Regions from separate parts of the Homo sapiens genome. Here region 2 is linked to region 1. The links are contacts of gene promoters, found by promoter capture Hi-C in blood cells and fetal thymus (Javierre and others, 2016). All regions are on one chromosome and are shown on one strand. Each heading gives the region's core, a stretch centred on a gene start or on the middle of the fragment in contact. The rest is flanking DNA. Distances are from core to core; before and after follow the strand shown.

Region 1 (4,481 bases), core at 503-3,002:
CAAAATGCTGGGATTACAGATGTAAGCCACTGCGCCTGGCCAATATGTAACATTTTTAACTTTTTGTAAAACCAGAGAATATTTTGAAATGTGTCCGAATGCCCTGCCTAGATTCTAGACTCTGTGAGGCCCCAGCCTCCTTTCCTATGCATGACTTACTGTTTAATGTAGTACACACAGAAGGGATATCATCATCATAATAAAGGTCCTCACTTTCCTTCACAGTTTCATCTACCCCACAATGACTCCCAGGAAAAGGAGGGTACTGTTTCAGACTTCCCAGCTCCCGTATATTAGGTGGAGCCAAGTTCTTGCTGCAGCATACGGGCACGCTTTAAAATTTTCAAATCATTTTTTAAAAGCTACAAGCTTGACAGCTTTGGGTTTTTATGGCTACTTGTTTTCTGAAGTTCACAGAACTTTATCATTTGGATCACACACTTAAAAAAATCACTTGCAAAAATCTCTTTAAAGATGAATATGCTTCCTCTTCAAGAGAAACAGACTAGCGGGTAGAAGAAAAAGGACCCGTCTAGAGTATTAATAAATAGACTGATATTCACACAATGGATTAAATGGATTAAAGTCCATCCCACAGATGAACTGTTATATTAATAGAATCCAAATATACAGTTACATCCTCGACCCTGAAAGCAGTTTAAACGGGTGAAATTCACCCAGTGCTCACTTGAAATGAGTACTCTAAAGTTTAAAGCACCTATAAACTGCCCTCAGGATTCAATCATTTTTCCATTCCTTCCGGCATTATATACTTTGATGTTTTAATGTTATTAGCCCACAATACACACCAGTTTCAGAAACTCAGTTTTTGTCCTCTAAGGGCTTTTAGTCCTCCCAAAAAAAGAATAGGGCAAAAGCAAGGAAGATCATGAATCTGGTTTTCTAAAAGCATTATTACAAGACTGCTTTATAAAATTGTAATCCCCAGCTGCAGAGTTCCGCAGATGGCTTGAAAGTGTCTTACATGCAAATAAATAAAAACAAAAGGCCACTTATGCGAGCAGAACACAGCGTGCTCGATAGTCATCTTAAACCGAGCAGGTAGGTACTTTATCAGAGGCAGACAAGGGAAACGTCACTTATTTAGAGTTCACCGCACGCCTGGATAAAAGTCCTCACTAACAAAATCCCTGCCTTTGTGGATTCTGTGTCGGAAAGGGAAACGATAAAGAATACGGTTTGTGACAGCACTACTCTCAGGAGACGAAGGAGAGATGCTAAGATCTTGGAAAGGAGAGAGAATAGGAAGAGTCGGAGGGGAGATCTCCTCTCAGTAAAACGGCACCCACAGCAGTCAGACTTCAGCTACGAGCAAAATCGAGTCCGTGCACCTCAAAAAAGAGAGGGAGGCAGGGAAAACTTTCCCTCGCCTCTCCCCATCCTTCCCTCCTCCTCGCAGGAGAGCACATTAGCTGAGGTGCTGGCGGGGCCGGGCCGGGGACCCCATCCCTCGCCCCGGACGCAGCGCCCGCAGGGACTGCCCGGGAGCCCGAGCGAGGGAGGCGGGAGGTACAGGAGTAACGGGGCACTCCCGGCCCGGCCTGCGGGGAAGGGAAGCAGGGGCAGGGCCGAGGGGGAAGAGGCCTCCGCGAGCTCGACCCCGCGCCCACACGCTACCTGCGAGGTCAGCTGCTGCCGCGCCGTCCCGCGGGACCGCAGGGATCTCCGAAGCTCCAATGGGCGCAGAAGTGCGAGCGAGCGGCGGTGCCCACCGGCAGCGAAGAGGAGGAGCGCCAGGGCGCCGGGCCCGCCGGGTCACGTGGCCCCGGCCGCCTCACGTGACCCGGTGCAGCGCGCGCCCGGGACGCTACCCAGCCGAGCATCCCGCACCGCCCCGGCCCCGGCCCCGGCCGAAACCCTGCTCTTCGGGCCCTACAACCCGACTTCTTTAGAAGCCGATTGGCCGTCTCAGGCCCGCCCCGAGGCCCTGCCACTGGAGTGTCCCCATGAAATCCGGTGGCTGCTGCCGGGACTTAGAGGCTTTTGTGTCTGAGGAACCAGGAACGCGCGAGGCACGGGCTCCTGCTCTGCTCCCCGAGATGGCTTGGCTGTGGGGAGGGTCGGCCTACCACCCCAGAGACCTAGGACGGAAAAGCGACCGAGAAACTTGGCTCCCTGCCCACTCTAGAGCGCGTCTGGCCCCGGGGCACCACCCAGGTGGTGCTGCCTGGGAGGAAAGGCGGCGGAGCTGGGACTAGTTTGTTTTTACTGGAGACGCGCCTCCCTCCCTCCCCGCCCCTCACTTCCTGATTGAAAGTACCTGAGGCAGGCCAGGGACTAGGGAAGGTGGCAGCTGGACAAAGGTATGAAGGAAGGACGAGATGAGGCACAGGTCCTGGTATTGGAAAGAGGCAGAGGTACCTCGGAAGCATGCCATAGAGGTTAGACGGGACCTAAGAGGGCATCTGGTCCAACCGGATTCGTGTTACCAGCGAGTAAACTGAGGCCAGGAGAGGGACTGCTACGAGCTGCTCCAGCCTATCACCTATAAAGACTACAGTCCCTTTGTAAAATACCATACAGCTCTCGGAGAACTCCCAGTTGGCGCTGCAGGATAAAATCCAAACTTGTTGGCATAGCATTCCAGCCACTTGTTCACTTACCTTTCCCATTTGAGCTCCTAGGAATAAACAGAAAAACATTTCATTTTCTAAATATCACCAGATAACTTCACTTTTGGTAACTTGAATTATTAAAAAAGTCCTACCGTCCCTCATCTCTTGCCACTTCCCCAACATTACTGGAGGCTCTGGCTACAAATAATTTGTTTTCCTTGACTACTCAACTTTCTTTGGATTATTTACTTTTTCTCTAAGTTTCTTTACTCCTTTTTGCTTTGTTCATTCTTTTGTCTGTATCTGAAATGTCCTGAATCACCACCTCCCCCACTTAAAGAAAACCAGGGCCAATGATTAAAAAAAAAAAAAAAGGTATTAAGAAACTAATGCAATAAGAGAATTGAGCTTAGTTCTGTATCTATTCTGAGGTCTCGCTCCTGTTGCACTAGTTCCTGAATAAAATGTTTTTACCACTTCAACTACTGTTTGGCTCTGGTTTTCTTCAACAGCCTCCAAAGTACACATCAGTTTCCTACTCATCTTTCAAAATCCAGGTCAAATGCCGCCTACTCTTGTCTTCCCAGCATCCTCTTCCCTGATTTTTTAGCAATTGAAGTTCATCCAGACAGTGTCAGCTGCAACTTCTTCCCTGATTTCCAGAATACTATATATATTCTGATACACCTCACACTGCCCAGAAATAGACTGCGCATTTCCTGTAAAAGGTGAATTGTCTATTGCTGTCTTCTCCCTTAGATTATAAACTCTTTGAAACAGGATTCTTCTGGGTTTAGAACAGCGCCTGGCATGTGATAGACCCTTAATACTCACTGAATGAAGTGGCTTGCCCAAAGTAGTGGCAGTTGAGTGAATTTACTAGAAGAGGCCTGTTTTGCTCAAAGAAACTAAAATCAGTTTCTTTTGGTTGCAACCCGATCAAAAGAACTTGTGTAAACATGTCTGAGAGAAAAACGAGGGCATGGGGTGTGAGCAATCAAATATGTCCTGAGCCCTCACTGCTTATGTGTCAGATGCCATACTTGGAGCATCTTGGAGGATTAAAAGCTGAATGAGACATGGTTGCTGATAAGGAATGTGTAGTCTGGTTCATTATTCCAGTACAGGGTGAAAAGTATTATGATACAAGGTGCTAAGTGAACACAAACCAGGGACCACAAATCAGGGAGTCAGGGAGAAACTTCATGAGAAGGTCAGTTGGACAGGAAGTAGATAAGAAGAAAGAAAAAGACATTCCAGGAGAGAGCAATGTGTTCAAAAGTAGTGACACATGAAACAGTACTATTTGTTTAGGAAAAAACAAACAGGTAGGTGCAGTGGCTCATGCCTGTAATCCCAGGCCAAGGCAGGCAAATCACTTGAGGTCAAGAGTTCAAGACCAGCCTGGCCAACTTTGGAAAACCCTGTCTCTACTAGAAATACAAAAATTAGCCAGCTGTGGTGGCACGTGCCTGTAATCCCAGCTACTTGAGAGGCTGAGGCACAAAAATCACTTGAACCCAGGAGGCAGAGGTTGTAGTGAGCCAAGATCGCATCACTGCATTCCAGCCTGGGTGACAGAGTGAGACTCTGTCTCAAAAAAACAAAAACAAGTAACCCTATATTGATGCCTTGATGACTTCATTCACATCTAGGATAAAGGAAACCAAATTAGGTTAATTTTAATATACTTGAAAGAATGACATATTTACTGGTATTGGTGTTATTTATTGTATTGAATAACTTTCTATCAGGCACATCATAGGCTCTGCATCTAAAATTGGCCTAGGCCAGGCACAGTGGGTCACGCCTATAATCCCAATGCTTTGGGAGGCCAAGGTAGGTGGATTGCTTGAGCCCAGGAGTTCAAGACCAGCCTGGACAACATAGCAAGACGCTGTCCCT
Region 2 (4,481 bases), core at 517-3,016, 270 kb before region 1:
CAGAACAATTACAGCAGAAAAAATAGGCACCTCCAAAGTCTTCCCAAGAATGATGACTTTCTGAAATGACACACTGTACAAACTGGACAAATGAGACGACTGACTGTGACAGGGGCCGGGGAGCTCTTCAAGGGGCCGTTTTCTTCAAGTCTCGGATCTGTTTAATCAAGTAGTTCTTCTCGTCAGCGAACTGCTCATCATCCGTCCTTTCTTTTTGGAAGCTGCTCAGAAACTCAATGAGTTTGGGCTGATTTTTTAACAGGATCTCCACAATAGGCTGTGTTTTGTGAGGACTGGCCACAAACACCTGAAACAAAAAGAAACAAATACTTAGGAGTGCAAGCCAGGGACCTCACCCACGCTACAGCAGTGCAGGCCAGGGACCTCACCCACACTACTCGCGTTTCATGCGTGACTGATATTATTAATGCGTAGAAGCCCCTGACTCTAATTCTCAGTGAGGGTGATCAATACAGTCACACACCACATAACGACATTTCAGTCAACAACAGACCATGTATACGACTGTAATCCCATAGCACCATAATGGAGCTGAAAAATTCCCATTGCCTTGTGATATCGTAGGTCAGTGCATTTACTCATGTGTCTGTGGTGATGCTGGTGTAAACAAACCTACTGCCCGGCCAGCTGCATAAAATTCAAGCCCGTACAATTATGCACAGTGCATAATACTTGATAATCAACGACGATGGTACTGGTTTACGTATTTACTATACTATACGTCTAATCATTATTTTAGAGTATATGCCTTCTACTTAGTAAACAAAAAGTTAACTGTAAAACAGCCTCAGGCAGGTCCCTCAGGAGGTATCCAGAAGAAGGCACTGTTATCGTAGGAGGTGACACCTCCATGGGTGTTATGGCCCCTGCAGACTTTCCAGGGGGACAAGATGTGGAGGTGGAAGCAGTGATACTGATGATCCTGACCCTGTGTAGGCCGAGGCTAATGTGAGTGTTTATGTCTTAGTTTTTAACAAAGAAGTTTAAAAAGTAAAAAATAAAAAACTTTAAGCACAGAAAAAGCTTATAGAATAAGGATATAAAGAAAGAAAATGTTTTTGTACAGCTGTATAATGTGTTTGTTTTAAGCTGTGTTATTGCAAAAGAGTAAAAAAGTTTTAAAAAATTAAAAAATAAACTTTTTATAAAAGTAAAAAGTTACAGTAAGCTAAGGTTATTTTTATGTATGTATTTATTTATTTTTGAGACAGGGTCTCGCTCTGTCACCCAGGCTGACGTGCAGTGGCACTATCAGAGCTCACTGCAGACTGGAACTCCTGGGCTCAAGCGATCCTCCCGCCTCAGCTTCCCCAGTGGCTAGGACTACAAGTGCATGCCACTGCACCTGGCTAATTTAAAAAGTTTTTCGTAGAGGCAGGCCTGACTATGACTGCCAAGGCTGGTCTCGAATTCCTGGTTTCAAACAATCCTTCCACCTTGGCCTCCCAAAGCTGTGGGATTACAGGCATGAGCCACCATGCCTGGCCCTAAGGTTAACTTATTATTAAAACAAGAAAAAAAATTTTTTAAATCAATTTAGTGTAGTCTAAGCAGTGTTTATGAAGTCTACAGTAGTGTACGGTAATGTCCTAGGCCTTCGCATTCACTCACCATTCAATCCCTGACTCCCCCAGAGCAACTGCCAGTCCTGTAAGCTCCATTTATGGTAAGTTCCCTATACAGGTGTACCATTTTTTCTCTTTTATGCCATCTTGTTACTGTATCTTTTCTATGTTTAGATACCCAAATACCATTGGGTTATAATTGCCTGCAGTATTCAGTATGGTAACATGCTGCACAGGTTTGTGCTCTAGGCGCAATAGCCCACACTATATAGCCTAGGTGTGTGGCAGGCTCCACCACCTAGGTCTGCGTAAATGCACTCTGTGATGTTCCCACACAAAGGACATCGCCTAGTGAGCATGTTTCTCAGAACAACTCCCTGCTGTTAAGCGCCACAGGCCTGCACTTCACCTTTCCTATCACTCTCCTAAGTCACTAGCTAGGAGCACGTGGGAGCTATCTATGAACATTTCATATTTGACTTTGTTTTACTTTTAAATATTTGTTCTTAACTATAAAATCTTTCAAACAGAAAATAACATAACAAATCCAGTATACGTACCTCACAAATTGAATAGATTTTACCATTGTGCCTCAAGAGTCTCTTTTTAAACAAATAAAACATTACAAATGGAACCAAACCCTCACCTTCCACCTTTCCCCTCCCACCTCCAGCAGTGTGCCACCATCTCTGGGCACATTTCAATCCTTATCCTCCTATTACATAGATATTTAAACATAAACAACATATAGTATGAAAGAGCTTATGATTTTTAAACATAATTTATTTTTTGAACACATAATATCATCACCTAGTTCAAAATTCAAAAAGGACAAACGTGAATAGTCCTCCTCTCACCTTCCCTCCCTGGAGGTCACCAATGTCACTGTTTGTTACATATGTGAAGCTTTAAAAATTACAACTGCTGGGCCAGGCGCGGTGGCTCATGCCTGTAATCCTAGTACTTTGGGAGGCCGAGGTGGGCGGATCACGAAGTCAGGAGATCGAGACCATCCTGGCTAACACGGTGAAATCCCATCTCTACTAAAAATACAAAAAATTAGCCAGGCGTGGTGGCGGGCGCCTGTAGTCCCAGCTACTCGGGAGGCTGTGGCAGGAGAATGGCGTGAACCCAGGAGGCGAAGCTTGCAGTGAGCTGAGATCGCGCCACTGCACTCTAGCCTGGGCAACAGAGTGAGACTCCGTCTCAAAAAAAAAAAAAAAAATTACAACTGCCCAGGTCCTACCTCCCAGATACGTCAACTCAGCAGGTCTGTGGTGGATGTCTAGCATTCTGTATTTCTATGAAGTTCCACAGAGATTCTTATGTGAACTCCTGGTGGAAACCACGATCTGATACTGACTGGTGCACTATTTTGTAAAAGACACACTCCTTAGTTACTGCTACATACATGACCACATGACCAGAATGCAGATCAAAGTGTCTCTGAGCCCTACAGAGCTCTCTGGTGTGATGGTCTGGCCTCCTGCCTCTGCCTGGCACCCCCTCTGCCCACCCATCCCTGTCCCATAGCTGTGCAGTGCCCAACTCTACAGGGAACACACTATGAAAGGGCTTAGTTATGGGGCAGTGGGGGTTTCATGGCTAAGCCTTTAAGGTTCCTCCACCCTAGCAAGTGTGGGGAAGGAGAAAACTACCCTAGGATGTTGAGTACCAATGTGGAGAATACAAGACTGCAGAGGCTCCCATCCCAGGAGGTGGCGATGACATTACATTTCCGGGTTTGGAACAGGAAGGCTCATGGTGTGGGCGGCATGAGAGCTAGTCCATGAGTCAGGCAGAGAATGTTTACACGTGGTGGTAAGAAAAGCAGCATTCCAGGAATACTGAATTGTCCCACTGCAGGCTCTGAGGTGGGCGGGACAGGACGTGGGAGCAACAGTAAGAATGAGTAAGGGAACGTGGGAGCTAAGGCGGCGCCGGCTCTGGAACCTGGGTTCAAATTCCACCTCTCCTACATGTTAGCAGTGTGTCCACCAGCAAAGTTTTGTTATCTAGAAATAAAAGGACCTCTGCCTGTCTGGGTGGGGAGAATGTGCTGGAGAACATCAGCAGCTTCAGCACAAGTAAGTCTCCTGAAAGCCTTCTGTTGTCACTGTATGTGGGGAGTCGTGCTTGCTGGAGGCAAAGTGCCTGAACTGAATTCAAGGCCTCGTCACTGCCCCATCACCCTAATTCTGGTCAACTGTACACACGACCGTGGGCAGCCAGTTCATAGCCCTCCCAGCTGGTTGTCTTCATTCATGGGGCTAAGTGTTTCACACTCATCGAACACTTAACCCTCACAACAGCCCTGAAGTATAAGAGCTGTTATCCTCATCTGTTAATAAGGAAACAGGCTGAGTCATATTAATAAACTTGACCACATAGTAGTATGGTTAACAGCGCAGATTCAGAAGCACACAGCCTGGGCCCAAATCCTAGCACCATCTCTTATTAGCTTTATGATTTCACAAAACTTGTTTACCTCTCTGTACCTCAGTTTCTTCATCTGAAAAATGGGGATGATAACAGTACCTGAGTGCCATTAGGTAACTGTGAGGCTTAATGAGAACAGTATATGTATTCTACTCCATGCATTCAAATGGTACATGGCACACAGCATGCACCATTCAAATGCATGGAGTAGAACACATACATTGTTGCAAAATTGCTTTTGCCAGGCTCACAGAACTAGCAAGGGCTGAAGCTGAGATTAATCCCAGGATGCTTGTTCTGAGAACTGATGAGATGTGACATTTTACCAGGTGAGGTTCAGAACTAGAAATCAAAGCCCACAAATCTGATACTCAGTTCATTTGGCCAATTTAGTTCTGAAATTGTTCATAAATATGATATATAAATTCTTCATGTTTCTGTTCTTTCCATCAAAGG

Evidence for each region. The method cuts DNA at HindIII sites, captures the fragments that hold promoters and counts their contacts. A CHiCAGO score of 5 or more calls a contact.
Region 2: a fragment that was not itself captured here is called in contact with the fragment with the promoter of RCBTB1 in region 1 in 5 of 17 cell types (endothelial precursors, megakaryocytes, total CD8 T cells and 2 more); the score reaches 8.7 in endothelial precursors.

Annotation. Positions count from the first base shown.
Region 1 is chr13:49,583,806-49,588,286 of GRCh38, forward strand. RCBTB1 (RCC1 and BTB domain containing protein 1) reads right to left here and starts at 1,753. Exons shown (of 13, transcript NM_018191.4): 1 at 1,639-1,753. RefSeq lists a silencer at 1,277-1,986. The HindIII fragment of the contact is 4,185 bases long and covers 368-4,481 here.
Region 2 is chr13:49,310,687-49,315,167 of GRCh38, forward strand. It overlaps CAB39L (calcium binding protein 39 like), which reads right to left. Exons shown (of 11, transcript NM_001079670.3): 11 at 1-307. The coding sequence ends at 128. Among named protein-coding and RNA genes, the nearest start is that of CDADC1, 65 kb to the left of the region's middle. RefSeq lists an enhancer at 3,271-4,470. The HindIII fragment of the contact is 1,448 bases long and covers 1,043-2,490 here.